4 separate regions of the Homo sapiens genome follow, and all the other regions are linked to region 1. Evidence: promoter capture Hi-C in human tissues and cell types (Jung and others, 2019). All regions are on one chromosome and are shown on one strand. Each heading gives the region's core, a stretch centred on a gene start or on the middle of the fragment in contact. The rest is flanking DNA. Distances are from core to core; before and after follow the strand shown.

Evidence for each region. The method cuts DNA at HindIII sites, captures the fragments that hold promoters and counts their contacts. A contact is called where the count stands out against the background at its distance.
Region 2: a contact is called between a fragment that was not itself captured here and the fragment with the promoter of CDKN1B in region 1, in 3 of the 25 tissues and cell types used here (H1 embryonic stem cells, liver and mesendoderm cells).
Region 3: a contact is called between a fragment that was not itself captured here and the fragment with the promoter of CDKN1B in region 1, in 2 of the 25 tissues and cell types used here (H1 embryonic stem cells and lymphoblastoid cells).
Region 4: a fragment that was not itself captured here is called in contact with the fragment with the promoter of CDKN1B in region 1 in 3 of the 25 tissues and cell types used here (dorsolateral prefrontal cortex, heart right ventricle and liver).

Annotation. Positions count from the first base shown.
Region 1 is chr12:12,714,815-12,718,617 of GRCh38, forward strand. It overlaps CDKN1B (cyclin dependent kinase inhibitor 1B), which reads left to right and starts at 2,554. Exons shown (of 3, transcript NM_004064.5): 1 at 2,554-3,500. The coding sequence starts at 3,026. It also overlaps a transcript of GPR19 not described here. RefSeq lists enhancers at 1-11, 132-181, 192-271, 2,528-2,577, 2,658-2,757 and silencers at 1,938-2,507, 2,932-3,120. The HindIII fragment of the contact is 13,879 bases long and covers 1-3,803 here.
Region 2 is chr12:12,051,660-12,055,462 of GRCh38, forward strand. It overlaps a transcript of BCL2L14 not described here. Among named protein-coding and RNA genes, the nearest start is that of BCL2L14, 17 kb to the right of the region's middle. The HindIII fragment of the contact is 6,182 bases long and covers 1-3,803 here.
Region 3 is chr12:12,127,877-12,131,679 of GRCh38, forward strand. It overlaps LRP6 (LDL receptor related protein 6), which reads right to left. Exons shown (of 23, transcript NM_002336.3): 19 at 2,907-3,017. Among named protein-coding and RNA genes, the nearest start is that of MIR1244-4, 18 kb to the left of the region's middle. RefSeq lists a silencer at 3,151-3,351. The HindIII fragment of the contact is 4,393 bases long and covers 1-3,803 here.
Region 4 is chr12:12,160,469-12,164,271 of GRCh38, forward strand. LRP6 (LDL receptor related protein 6) reads right to left here. Exons shown (of 23, transcript NM_002336.3): 10 at 1,725-1,951. Among named protein-coding and RNA genes, the nearest start is that of MIR1244-4, 50 kb to the left of the region's middle. The HindIII fragment of the contact is 4,425 bases long and covers 1-3,803 here.

The DNA.
Region 1 (3,803 bases), core at 1,304-3,803:
CCTGCGTTCTCATTATTTGCTGTACAGATCTCCGGTGCCTTGACTGTAAACAAAACACTTTAGATCATTGTGAGGTCGATGTAAGCACAGCCTTTCTGCTGGCAGCCAGACTTCTTAAGGTGGTGTGACTGTGACTTGCTTACTTTTCGAGATCAACAACAACAAAGCGACAAAATGGTGCTCCTACATATTAGTTGAAAGATTCAGCATGTGAAGGGGATCGAAGTGTTTATTTTCCACTTCCATATAAGACATGAATTCCATGAGTAAAATCAAACTTCTGTGGCAAGGTGAACTACTCTAGAATGTCTCCATTTACATACATGTGGTAGTTTGGGTGTTTATGCATATGGATAGATGCACATATATAGAGTTCCTGTGTTGTCTAGCAATTGTTTTAAAATTTGGACAATTATCTAATTTCTAGGGTAAGGTATAAATTATGGTAGGGAGGCCTACCCTAATTTTCCTGTTCCTTTTCCCCCAGTCTGCAGTCCAATAAATTGACAGCCTTAAAAGTAGAAAAACTAAAGAGGATGAGACCTCTTGCTTGATCCTAGGTGAATTCTTTTCTGTCAGTTAGGTAGGAAGTCCTGACTTGAAAACTAGTTCTGGGCACTGCCCCCTTTACTGTTCTCTGGGTATCAACCCCTGTCCTTCAATTTTAGTTGAACTAGTGGATGGTGATACCACAGGCTCAAGACAGCTGCATTTAAATATCAGTGACCACAGGCCACATCAAGGAAACATCTGCAGGCAACCCAGGGCCTGGGAAGGAGCCATTTTCAGTCACTTGTAAGACAGCAGGACCTGCAGACTACAGCACAATCAAACTCAGACAAAACCCTGAACCAGTGAGAACCATTAGGAAGGAAAGGAACAGAAAATGAACCAACCTGAGTGTTAGGAGACTTGCATCTAGTCCTGACTCCGGTACCAACCGAATGCATGTCCCTGGACAGGAAACCTCTCTGAGTCTCGATTTCCTCCGTGGTAAAAAGGAGAGGGTTAAACCACAGGGTCCCGAGGGTCCCTTCCAGCTGTCACATTCTGGAGCGTATGAGATGAGGTAGGCACACAAAGTGGACAAGATGTGGCTAAGAAAACAAGCTACACATCAAGCTCATCTGTAGCATAGGTGCTTAAGAAAACTTTGCTGCTGTGTAATATTAGAACGGAAGGTTGGTTTCCAGTAAAATGCATTAACTTTGGCTCAAACCAAGATGATGGGTACCGGGCATGGGGGTGGGGAGGCAGTTGAAGATCCACTGAGCTTTGTCTCAGGGCAGCCCTGCTCATCGTCCTACTTTACCTTCCACCACGGTGCTCAAGCCCACACTGAGAGAGAAATTTCCAGCTGCAAAAGGGAGAAGAGAAACGCTGGAATACTAGTATCGGACGTTAGGACATGGTTGTGGTGTTTTAAAAATCATTTCATCATCTGGAGTTTGACCCCGAGGGGAGTATTTTCACCCTTCAGCCCTCTGAAAGCATTCACTAGCATCTGAATATTGTTCTGAGTTTGTTGGAGCAGTGAAATCTGGTGAGAGAGAAGGGTGGAGGAAGGAAGGAGCTGTTGTATTTGGCGGCTGGACTCAGGTAGAGGAAACTGCTACAATCCCGGGAAAGAACAGAAAAGTAGAAAGGGACGAGTTCCCACACGCAGCCAATGTCCATGGCCTTAACTGTGCTTGGGAAGGAAGATCCTGGGCCAGGGGTGTACCCTCGTTTTTCAAAACTAAACGTGTCTGAGACAGCTACAAAGTTTATTAAGGGACTTGAGAGACTAGAGTTTTTTGTTTTTTTTTTTTAATCTTGAGTTCCTTTCTTATTTTCATTGAGGGAGAGCTTGAGTTCATGATAAGTGCCGCGTCTACTCCTGGCTAATTTCTAAAAGAAAGACGTTCGCTTTGGCTTCTTCCCTAGGCCCCCAGCCTCCCCAGGGATGGCAGAAACTTCTGGGTTAAGGCTGAGCGAACCATTGCCCACTGCCTCCACCAGCCCCCAGCAAAGGCACGCCGGCGGGGGGGCGCCCAGCCCCCCCAGCAAACGCTCCGCGGCCTCCCCCGCAGACCACGAGGTGGGGGCCGCTGGGGAGGGCCGAGCTGGGGGCAGCTCGCCACCCCGGCTCCTAGCGAGCTGCCGGCGACCTTCGCGGTCCTCTGGTCCAGGTCCCGGCTTCCCGGGCGAGGAGCGGGAGGGAGGTCGGGGCTTAGGCGCCGCGGCGAACCCGCCAACGCAGCGCCGGGCCCCGAACCTCAGGCCCCGCCCCAGGTTCCCGGCCGTTTGGCTAGTTTGTTTGTCTTAATTTTAATTTCTCCGAGGCCAGCCAGAGCAGGTTTGTTGGCAGCAGTACCCCTCCAGCAGTCACGCGACCAGCCAATCTCCCGGCGGCGCTCGGGGAGGCGGCGCGCTCGGGAACGAGGGGAGGTGGCGGAACCGCGCCGGGGCCACCTTAAGGCCGCGCTCGCCAGCCTCGGCGGGGCGGCTCCCGCCGCCGCAACCAATGGATCTCCTCCTCTGTTTAAATAGACTCGCCGTGTCAATCATTTTCTTCTTCGTCAGCCTCCCTTCCACCGCCATATTGGGCCACTAAAAAAAGGGGGCTCGTCTTTTCGGGGTGTTTTTCTCCCCCTCCCCTGTCCCCGCTTGCTCACGGCTCTGCGACTCCGACGCCGGCAAGGTTTGGAGAGCGGCTGGGTTCGCGGGACCCGCGGGCTTGCACCCGCCCAGACTCGGACGGGCTTTGCCACCCTCTCCGCTTGCCTGGTCCCCTCTCCTCTCCGCCCTCCCGCTCGCCAGTCCATTTGATCAGCGGAGACTCGGCGGCCGGGCCGGGGCTTCCCCGCAGCCCCTGCGCGCTCCTAGAGCTCGGGCCGTGGCTCGTCGGGGTCTGTGTCTTTTGGCTCCGAGGGCAGTCGCTGGGCTTCCGAGAGGGGTTCGGGCTGCGTAGGGGCGCTTTGTTTTGTTCGGTTTTGTTTTTTTGAGAGTGCGAGAGAGGCGGTCGTGCAGACCCGGGAGAAAGATGTCAAACGTGCGAGTGTCTAACGGGAGCCCTAGCCTGGAGCGGATGGACGCCAGGCAGGCGGAGCACCCCAAGCCCTCGGCCTGCAGGAACCTCTTCGGCCCGGTGGACCACGAAGAGTTAACCCGGGACTTGGAGAAGCACTGCAGAGACATGGAAGAGGCGAGCCAGCGCAAGTGGAATTTCGATTTTCAGAATCACAAACCCCTAGAGGGCAAGTACGAGTGGCAAGAGGTGGAGAAGGGCAGCTTGCCCGAGTTCTACTACAGACCCCCGCGGCCCCCCAAAGGTGCCTGCAAGGTGCCGGCGCAGGAGAGCCAGGATGTCAGCGGGAGCCGCCCGGCGGCGCCTTTAATTGGGGCTCCGGCTAACTCTGAGGACACGCATTTGGTGGACCCAAAGACTGATCCGTCGGACAGCCAGACGGGGTTAGCGGAGCAATGCGCAGGAATAAGGAAGCGACCTGCAACCGACGGTAATGACCCTTTCCCAACCATAGAATGTGTTTGGGGCCCCGCTTTGCCTGCTGGAGGGTGTTAACCTTAGCTTGCTTTTCGGCGTATTCTGATTTAGCTTTGGGAGAGCTAACTTTATTGGTCTTAGGTGTTCAGTGCTACCTGGCCCACTGCTTGTCTGTTTGTGACTTTTAAGTCAGAAACTGGAGATGGTAAGATCCGATAATTTCCCTAACTTAATACATCGCGGTCCCTCTCACTAGCAACTCCTAGGTATGTGACAAAGTTGGGATGTTTATCAACGGTCCGCCTCCTGGCTAGGG
Region 2 (3,803 bases), core at 937-3,436, 660 kb before region 1:
TTCTAAGATAAATAGTCCACATTATACAATCTTAATACCCAATTCAATGAGCACTTCATGATAGTCTAATATATGCAAAGCACCATGCTTGTGCCAAGTGGGACCCTAAAGCGAATATTATCTCCTTGCTCTTTAGGCAAACAGGGTGAAGACAAGAGGCATAGGTGATGGACACTAAAACAAAGACCGTAAGTACTGTAATAGCTACACACAACTTACAATCATATAGGCATGGGGAAAGAGTAGCCCAGCTTACCTTGGAGGATCTGGAAAGGTTCTAAGAAGAAGTGGAATTGAGTTGGAGTTGGAAAGACTTCAACAATCAGATGTGAGAAGGACGTGGGTGGTGAGTGCAAAGAAAATAGGACACGGCTGAGGACCTTGTTTTCTTTTTCTTTTTTGAGGTTTTTTTCTTCTTCCTTTGTTTTTCGTTTTATTTTTATTTTTCATTAACAAGTAGTAATAATACATGTTTATGGAGTACAATTTGATGTTTTGATATAGGTTTACAATGTGGAATGATTAAATCAGGCTAATTAGTAAATCCATCACCTCACAAACTTACCAATTTTTTGCAGTAAAAACATTTAAGATCTACTTTTAGCAATTTTGAAATATACAATGCATTATTACTTATTATAGTTACCATGCTGTGCAATTGATTAGTAAAGCTTATTCCTCTTGTCTAACTGAAACTGTGTAGCCTTTTCCCAACCACCGCTCCACCCCCAGTCCCTGGTAACCACCATTGTACTCTCTACTTCTATGAGATCAACTTTCTCAGATCCTACCTATGAGTGAGATCGTGCAATATTTGTCTTTCTGTGCCTGGCTTATTTCACTTAGCGTAGTGTCCTCCAGATTCATCCATGTTGTCCCAAATCACAGGATTTCACCCCTGTTTAAGGCTGAGTAGTATTCTATTGTGCATATATACCACATTTTCTTTATTCATTCATCTGTTGATGGACACCTAGATTGATTCCATATCTTGGCTATGGTAAATCGTGTTGCAATGAACATGGGAGTTCAGGTGTCTCTTCAACATACTGATTTCAATGCCTTTGGATAAATACCCAGAAGTGGGATTGCTGTATCAGGACCTTGGTTTCTTAGCTTCTGTCTGACCTTGAGCATACCTAAAATAAGAGCCCTGAACGAGATAATTTCTAAAGTTTAGTGATAGAGACCAAAAGGAGTATACGTCTGAGCATTCCAACTTAGGCCAAAGCCTAAAAGTGAGAAGCCTGCCCATATCAAGGGAGTGAGGTGTGTGTTTGGGGCAGGGGTAGTAGAAGAGCAAGACGGTTCATGAATTCAGTATTCTTGTTTCACTGATGCAGCACCCATCACCATTCTGATCAGGTCCCTTGGGGACATGGACAGTGTCCTTAGAATGACAATGATGATGGTACCACCAGCACCACCACCACCATTTCTCTAGCATGTGGGTGAGCCAAACACCTTTGGAAACACCTTACATATTTACATTTACATCCTACTGAATCCTCATAACAGCCCTGTGAGATAGATAGAATTTTTATTATTCTCATTTTACAAATTAGAAAGCTGAGGCACAGAAAGGTTAAATAACTTGCCCAAGTCCATAGGGCTAATCTAATAGCAGAGCTGGGATTTGAAGGCAAGTAGTCTCACTCCCTGCTTTTCTTCCTCGAAAAACACAAGGGCAGGGCTGAACTCAGCTCAGGGGACACAATCTATACCAGGACAAGGTTACAATGGCCCTATAACTTCTTCTTCTTCTTTTTTTTTTTTTTGAGACGAAGTTTCACTCTTGTTGCCCAGGCTGGAGTGCAATGGCGCAATCTCAGCTCACTGCAACCTCCACCTCCCGGGTTCAAGCAATTCTCCTGCCTCAGCCTCCCGAGTAGCTGGGGTTACAGGCATGTGCCACCACACCCGGCTAATTTTGTATTTTTAGTAGAGATGGGGTTTCTCCATGTTGGTTAGGCTGGTCTCGAACTTCCAACCTCAGGTACCCGCCTTGGCCTCCCAAAGTGCTGGGATTACAGGCGTGAGCCACCATGCCCAGCCGGCAATATAACTTCTTTTGCATTCTCATTAACTCAGCCTCAGACGACACTGGCTTCCTTGGAAGCCACTGCATACTGATGATTGAAGTGGAGCTGACAATCACCTAAAAACCCCTAAATGCCTTTGACATGAGCCACTCTTAAGCCAGGTCTCTCCCATTCTGTTCACGTGTGGCTGATCAGTTCAAACTAAATGTTGGGTTTTACGTTGAACCCTATACAATTCTAGGTTTTAGCTTATAGTTTCACCCTACTATAATTTTGAAACATGATATGTTACCTAATGTTACCTCTCCCGGTTTAGTAATAACATAAACAAAAACAGTTGACAGTTATGGGGGCCCTGACTTTGTGCCAGACACCCTGCTACGTATTTGTTTGTTTAATGTAATACCTTATATAATCATTTAGTCTTTACACAAAGTTAAATATTATTATTATTCTCACTTAATAGGATAGGAAACCAAGTCTAGTGAAGTTAAGAAGCTTGCTCAAAATCCAATTAGGGGCTGGGCGCAGTAGCTCATGCCTGTAATCCCAGCTCTTTGGAAGGCCAAGGCAGGTGGATCACCTGAAGTCAGGAGTTCGAGACCAGCCAGGCCAACATGGAGAAACCCCATATCTACTAAAAATACAAAAAATTAGCCAGGCGTGGTGGCAGGTGCCTGTAATCCCAGTTACTTGGGAGGCTGAGGCAGGAGAATTGCTTGAACCCAGGAGGTGGAGGTTGCAGTGAGCCGAGATCATGCCACTGCACTCCAACCTGGGCAACAGAGCAAGACTCCATCTCGAAAAAAAAAAAAAATAAAATCCAATTAGGAAGGGACTGACCCAAGAGTCATACCTAGGATTATCTGACTCCAGGGCCTGAACTTTTATCTATGTTCTCTGCAGCGTCCTCACATCTTCTACACACTTGTTATTATCTAAGTCAATCATGAAAAATGATGAAACAGGCCAGGCGTGTTGGCTCACACCTGTAATCCCAGCACTTTGGGAGGCCGAGGCGGGCAGATCATGAGGTCAGGAGATCGAGACCAGCCTGGCCAACAGGGTGAAACCCCATCTCTACTAAAAATACAAAATGAGCCAGGCGTGGTGGCATGTGCCTGTAGTCCCAGCTACTCGGGAGGCTGAGGCAGGAGAATCGCTTGAACCCAGGAGGCAAAGGTTGCAGTGACCTGAGATCACACCACTGGACTCCAGCCTGGGCGACAGAGCGAGACTCCATCTCAAAAAAAAAAAAAAGAATAAAGAAAAATGATGAAACAGAATCAGGGAGAGAATTCAGAGGAAAATGACATCCCTCCAGGTGTGTATGAACCAATTACTCATAGAGTCATAAACAGTTAGAGAATGAGGCATTTTTCACAAAATATTGAGGGCTGGAGAGGTTGAACAATTTGCTCCCACTCACACATCTAGGAAAGAGAGGAGATGGAAAAGTAAACAATCCAGAAAGGTCAAGGCCCTCATTCCATCAATGCACAATTCAAGTACACATACGTGGGAAACCATCTGAAAAGTTTTGTAATTACAATTTCATCTAGCCAGCAATTCTCCAACTCATTCACATGCATCTCATGACATCGTTGTCAGAAGCCTTGCTAGAGTGAACGTGCACTTCATCAAACACACCCCTGATCCGTGGGAGATGGGATTCGTTTGTGCTGATCTACTCTCCAGGAACACAAGAAACTCACCATTCTAACGGTTCATAAATCATCCATTTAATACCCCAGTTTCAGA
Region 3 (3,803 bases), core at 701-3,200, 590 kb before region 1:
AATGACATCTCTAAGTTACATAATATGTAGGGATTATCATTTACAAATTTAGTCTGTGGAATCTGAAGCATAGACTCTTCTTAGTCCTTGAGAACAACCGTCTCATCTTTTCATTCCTTTTTAGTCCCCTAACATTCCTTTGCAATGCCAAGCTTCAGGAAAGAAAAGTTTACATTCACTACCCTCAATCCCTAGCCTCTGGGTCACACCATAAACTCCCTGAAATCAGACTTCCACCCTCACCACTGCACTGAAACTTTTCTGTCAACAGTCAAAGTTCTACTATTTGCCATATTCAATATATTCATTTCACTAACCTCTTTACACAATACTGCTGGCTCCTGTCTTCTCTTTAAAAAAAAGTCTGATCAATATTCTTCCAAGATACCACTCTCTTAATTTTACTATTTCTGATTATTCTTTCTCTGCTTCCTTTGTTGGCTTCATTCTCTTCTGCCTGCATCTTAAGTGCAGGTGCTTCCCAGAGAGATTTCTATCTATCACCTACTATTTTCCTCCTCTTCTTACTGTCCTGGGAGATTCTATCTACTGTCACAGCTTTCATTATTATCAATAAACTAATGAGCACCAAATCTCTCTTCTGAGCCACAGTTCCTTATAATCAACTTCCTGAAGAGCTTCAGTGGGATATTCCATGAGTACCTCTCAGGCAACATATCACAAACTGAACTCACTGTCACCATGATCAGTCATTTCTCCTAGATTCCAGGGGTAAAGACACCATAAATAAAGTCATCTAGTATAAGATAATAAAAAGTGATGGGGCTTGTGGCAAAGTACACGCCTGCCTAAAGGCATTTAATGTAAATTAAACATCACATCAATCAAACATTACATCTGCAGCCAAGATGTGGTATGGTACTTTGGTTTTCAGTTCCTGCTATATATCCCATTTAATGACTCCAGTCACTCAGTGAGGTACCTGTGGGTCAACTTAAACTTATCAACTATAGCTAAGTGGTTACCAATTCCTCTTTATTCTACTTCTGAAACAACTCCGAAATCTGTTCTCTCCCTGCCACCCCCACTCCTCCTCCTCATGATTTAGATCTTTATCATCTTCTGCCTAAACTCTAATCGCTTCCTTTTTAAATTACAGGCTGCAAGTCATTCGTAAATGGTGAGAATGATTTAGTGGGTTACAACCAGCTTTGAAAAAATAAAACAGAAAATGTCAGAAAGTGTTCTATATAACATGGGTAAATATTTAAGTGTTGTGTGACACCTTTTTAAATGCATGAGCTCACATCTCTGTATTCCTCTTGATGCGATCAGAAGTTTGAAAGCAATCAATCTAACAGATTTCCCTGCCTATAAGCTTATCACCTCCAACCCACTGGCTTTACAACTTCTGTATTGCTTGACCATGCTAGTCTTTTTCTTGAAATTTTCAGTGACTCTCCACTCCCCATTGTTAATATTGTCTAGGCTCTTTAGAAGAAAAGCATAGTCCTCCATGATTGTACCTTTACCTATGTTATCTCTTGCTGACACCCCTCAACAGAGCCTGTATTTTGGCAGTCCCATTACATGGAGTTTCCCAGAGGTGCCTGTTTCACTCTTTTCTGCTTTTGAACAGTATATTCCCTCTGCCCAAAATGAAATTTCTCCAATTATCTACATGATGAACACTATTCATTGATCAACACCCAGTCTTTTTTTTCTTTTTTTTTGAGATGGAGTCTCGCCCTGTCGCCCAGGTTGGAGTACAATGGCACGATCTCGGCTCACTGCAACCTCCACCTCCCGGGTTCAAACGATTCTCTTGCCTCAGCCTCCTGAGTAGCTGGGATTACAGGTGCCCGCCACCACGCCCAGCTAATTTTTGTATTTTTAGTAGAGACGGGGTTTCACATGTTGGCCAGGCTGGTCTCGAACTCCTGACCTCGTGATCTGCCCACATTGGCCTCCCAAAGTGCTGGGATTACAGGTGTGAGCCAGCGCACTGGCACAACACCCAATCTTAAATACCATTTTTCTAAGATGCCTTCCTTGATCAAGTCCATCTTTGTCCCTAATAAGCTGACTACTCTCTCATTTCTACTGCCACCTGTGTAGATTTCTATTACAGCACTTATACTCCATAATCAATGTATCTACTATGAACCAGGCTATGTGTTTTTTAGGCTAAATGATATATATGTTAAATCATTTAATTTTCTTATAGGCATCAGGTTAAGCATCATTCTCTTCATTTTGAAGATGAAGACCTGTAATTCCAGCACTTTGTGAGGCCAAAGTGGGTGGATTGCTTAAGTTCTGAATTGAATTCAGACCAATTGAATTCTTTTCTTTTTTTTTTTTTTTGAGACGGAGTCTTGCTCTGTCGCCTAGGCTAGAGTGCAATGGTGTGATCTCGGCTCAATGCAACCTCCGCCTCCTGGGTTCAAATGATTGTCCTGCTTCAGCCTCCCAGTAGCTGGGATTACAGGCATGCACCACCACGCCTGGCTAATTTTTGTATTTTTAGTACAGCTAGGGTTTCACCATGTTGGCCAGGCTGGTCTCGAACTCCTGACCTCAAGTGATCCGCCCACCTTGGCCTCCCAAAGTGCTGGGATTACAGGTGTGAGCCACCACGCCCGGCTGATTTCTATGTATCTAAATGATTTGAGAATTTTGTAACTTTGGTTATAGTAAAATAATATTTACTCTTTTCTAGTGCTTTACTAAATGTTTCTGTGAAGATTTCTGTGCATAAGAAAACTGCTATGTTTAAAGAATTACTGAAAGCAAAACATAAAAAAACCTTCACACAAATAATTAGCTTAATATTAATACTTATTACTTAGAAAGGAAATCTCGATAAGTAAACCTCACACATAAGAAAAAAAATTGTTTAAATTCTCTGTTAAGAGTAATTTATAGATCTCAGTCCTACTTACAACAATCCAGTTCATCTGACTTGTCACTGCAATCCACATTATGATCACACTTCTTGTGCTTTCCAATGCACTGACCATTGGCACAGCGGAACTGATCAATTAAACAAAGCACTGGAAAAAAAACATAAATAGTTTCCTTATTTTTAATATCATGTAAAGTCAAACTCTGGCAAGAATCAAAAGGTGCCTTCTGAACACAAATGAAAAACAAATTAGACTTTTAGCTATAACTTAAATATTATTCTCTGGAGTTCCATTGGTTGAGAGAGAGAAAAAAGAGTAGGAGAAAAAAATCCAGCAGGAAATTTCCTAACATTTTTTTTTTTTTTTTTTTTTTTTTTTTGAGACGGAGTCTTGCTCTGTCGCCCAGGCTGGAGTGCAGTGGCGCGATATTGGCTCACTGCAAGCTCTGCTTCCCAGGTTCACGCCATTCTCCTGCCTCAGCCTCCCAAGTAGCTGGGACTACAGGCGTCTGCCACCAGGCCCGGCTAATTTTTTTGTATTTTTAGTAGAGATGGGGTTTCACCGTGTTAGCCAGGATGGTCTCTATCTCCTGACCTCGTGATCCGCCCGCCTCGGCCTCCCAAAGTGCTGGGATTACAGGCGTGAGCCACCACGCCCGGCTTATTCTTTACATTAAATTCCCTCTTTCACTAAAGAATTCTAGAGAACTTGGCTGGGTTGTTTTTACCATGGGAAAAGTTAGTAAGGGAAAGTGAAGAATATAAAATATGTTAGAGCGTAATTAATAAATCCACTAATTCAGAGCTCATTGGAAACAGGGACTATTTTTATATACTGAAGGCCTAATATATTTTAGTTTCATTTCTCAATTTTCAAAGCTTATTAATTTGTATAAATCTTATGCATATGGAGTGAATTAAAACAATAATATGG
Region 4 (3,803 bases), core at 627-3,126, 560 kb before region 1:
TTAACTGAAGTCAAAAGCAAAGCTTGAAAATGTATTTGGTCATATGGTCCAAGGGAGCATACTATATGGTAAGAACAACGACTCACCCCTTGATGTGTCCACTGGGCAATGAACACTACACTACGCTACAACAATCTCTGTGAAATTTTAGAATAATTACTTTGCTGTTATTTTCCATTTTTGAGTTTTGCACTTTAATCTTACAGTAATCCTACAGTATAGGCTTTTTATAGATGAAGAGCCCAAAACACTACAAGAAATGTGAACAACTTATCTAATGTCTTCAAGCCAGTTAGATGACAGAGCTAGAACTAGAACCTAATCCTTGGCCAAATGCCCTTTCAAGTAAACTAGTGAGGTGCTAGTTTTTGAGACTCTTGAATACTGGAACTAAAAAAGCACATCACATGCCAGCTCTCACGAAATACCTGAGGACATATATTCACTCATCAGCCTGTCAGCTGATAGCTGACTTGGTAGCAATGTATGAACATGCTTTTCTGAAAACTGAAGGTGTCCTGCCTTTATATGCATTTGCACTTGTCATTTGACAGGCATGTGCACACCACAAGAGCCAAAGAGAAACAACTGTGAGAGAAATTTCATACTTGCCAGCAGCAACCAATTAGTCCCAACTATTAAATTTATCTGTCTGGCAGCTAATGTTTAGAGCAAAGATCACCACAATATGTCAGTGCTGACTAGATGAATTACTAGCTAATCATGGAATCAATGTCACTTCAGGGAAATTATTTTAAGTAGCAAATACAGTAAACATATTTATATGTTCACACTGTTTACTTCTTTTTTTTTTTCCAAGATGGAGTCTTGCTCTGTTGCCCAGGGTGGAGTGCAGTGGCACGATCTCGGCTCACTGCAACCTCCACCTCCCAGATTCAAACAATTTTCCTGCTTTAGCCTCCAGAGTAGCTGGGACTACAGACACATGCCACCATGCCTGGCTAATTTTTTTTTATCTTTAGTAGTTACGGGGTTTCACCATGTTGGCCAGGCTGGTCTCGAACTCCTGACCTTGTGATCTGCCCACGCCTCGGCCTCCCAAAGTTGCTGGGATTACAAGCGTGAGCCACCACGCCCGGCCTGTTGACTTCTTTTATAAGTGGAATTTTTCTTTAGATTTCAGATTTCTTAGCTGCCGGCTTTAAAAAATTTGCTGACTCTTGTAAAAAGGAACACTCGCCCTTGAAAAACATCATGTTGTGAACAGTTTATTCTATCTTGTAATAACAAAGCTACTGCCAGTTTATAATAATGATCAAACCAAACTATCCATTTTGAATTAATAAATACTCCAAAATAAAGCTTTTTAAATGTAGTTTTTTCTTAGCTCACAACATTGTTTCGGTGGGTTTACTTCAATAGGCTTGGAATCTAGTATAACTGGGAAGGAGTGCAAGCAACTACAGATGGATAATACCTCTTGGTATATATACTTAACATATCAGTATACTCATCAGTAACATTTATTAACCCATTCCCCTCTTTCTTCACCTAAAGTTAATTACGACAAGAGTAAAATTAGCTAATAATTATTCATTCAAATCAGCAAAATATCAATAGTGTTTTTAAAAGTTCATCTATCATTTAGTTCTCAGATTCCTAATACGTATTATTTAAAACATTAAGAATATCATCTGTAACTATGCCATGTTCCCCGAAATGTACACTGCAGTTGCAAAGAATGCACATGTAAAGCTGTTTACCCTTCGGCAGGGTCCAACGCGAGAGCTCTGGGACTATCTAGGTCTTTCCACACCAAAACTTGTCGGTGCTGCCCATCCAACTTTGACACCTCAATTCGATTCGTTCCTGTGTCTGCCCAGTACAAGTTCTTCCCAAGCCAGTCTACTGCCATGCCTTCTGGATAATCTAAGCCGAATTCTACCACATGTTCCAGTGCACTGCCATTCATAAAGGCTCTGCTGATGGTCTGCAAAAGAACATTAACAACTAAGTCATATGGCATAAGTCTAAACCCTATCCAGAAAGAAGGTTTGGTTTGGTTTTTGTCAGGGGCAAGAGGATCCAGAAGTGCCAAGAGGCATACTATTTCCTATTAAAATTCACATAACTTGCAAGCACAGAAAAATTTGATGTCAATCTCTAATAAATGCAACTTCAAGTTTTACTGCCAATTCAGGGGAGAAATTTTAAAACTCTAATGCACCAAAAATTTATTCTACTAACAGCAGAATGACTTTACTTTTAAAATTTATCAGTAATCAAGTGGAAAAGCTGTGACCACAATGCTACAGATCTTAATTAGTGGTCAATTTTCTAAAGGTGCTTAAGATTATGGCAAGTCATCATGCCTACCATATAAATGAATGTAACCATTATACTACCATTATAGCACTGAGTCCCATAACACTTTTAAAAATCATAATTCAAACTAATAATAGATACATCTTATCAAGTATTATCCTAAGTACGTTTTGTCCGTAGATTTTGTCACTTAATACAACAGTCCTGCAAGTATGGCATCACCCCTATTTTATGTTTTTGAGACAGAGTCTCACTCTGTCACCCAGGCTGGAGTGCAGTGGCATGATCTCGGCTCACTGCAACTTCTGCCTCCCAGGTTCAAGTGATTCTCGTGCCTCAGTTTCCCGAGTAGCTGGGATTACAGGTATGCGCCACCATGACCAGCTAATTTTTGTATTTTTAGTAGAGACGGGGTTTTGTCATGTTGGCCAGGCTGTTCTCAAACTCGTGACCTCAGGTGATCCATGTGCCTCAGCCTCCCAAAGTGCTGGGATTTACAGGCCTGAGTCACCGCACCCAGCCACCCCCCATTTTCAAGATGAGGAAATTTAGAACATCACCCAATGCAAACCAAAATTTATTTATTTCATTTATTCACTTAATAAATTTAACTGAACACCATTAGAATCCAACTCTGACTCCAACACCCCATGTTTTCGCATATTACAAAAAAGTTTACATGAGTTATCTGAAACAAGCCCAAAACAATCTGGAAGAAGAAAAGATTATTCTTCAGATTTATAGGTTGGGAGCTTCCTCTCTGGCTATCCTGGTATTCTTTTCAGTAACTATTCTAGGAAGAAGAAAATAAAGAATAACTCATTGTTGGCCTTTTCCGCCTCAGTCAGGCCCTAAAATTTTGTTTAAAGTAAATCACGAATTTTTTTTTAAAGTAAATCAACAGCCATTTTACGTGAAGCACACATTTCCTTACTCAGCTAATTGCAGAAAATGTCATTCATCATTTTCAAATGGAAGAAAGTAGAGGAAGACTATGGCTTGCAGATTTAAAACACTCTGGCAAAGTATCTGTATTAAAAAGCATCTAATAAAATACTGAATGGGCCTTTCCCTTCACTTAAAAACTTAAGGGTTTTGGCTGGGCGCGGTGGCTCACGCCTGTAATCCCAGCACTTTGGGAGGACGAAGCGGGCGGATCACGAGGTCAAGAGTTCGAGCGGCCTGGCCAACATGGTGAAACCCCGTCACTACTAAAAATACAAAAATTAGCTGGGCGTCGTGGCACGCACCTGTAGTCCTAGCTGCTCGGGAGGCTGAAGCAGGAGAATCGCTTGAACCTGGGAGGCAGGGGTTGCAGTGAGCCGAGACTGCACCACTGCACTCCAGCCTGGGTGACAGAGCAAGACACCGTTTAAAAAAAAAAAAAAAAACTTGAGGGTTTTTGTTGAACTCTGCCTGTCAAACAATGAGGGAGGTGGGTCACAGCATGAAGATTCAGAAATTCTAGAAGTTCTCCCTTTTAGTCCCTAGCTTTAATATTCCAATTCTTTTGCTAA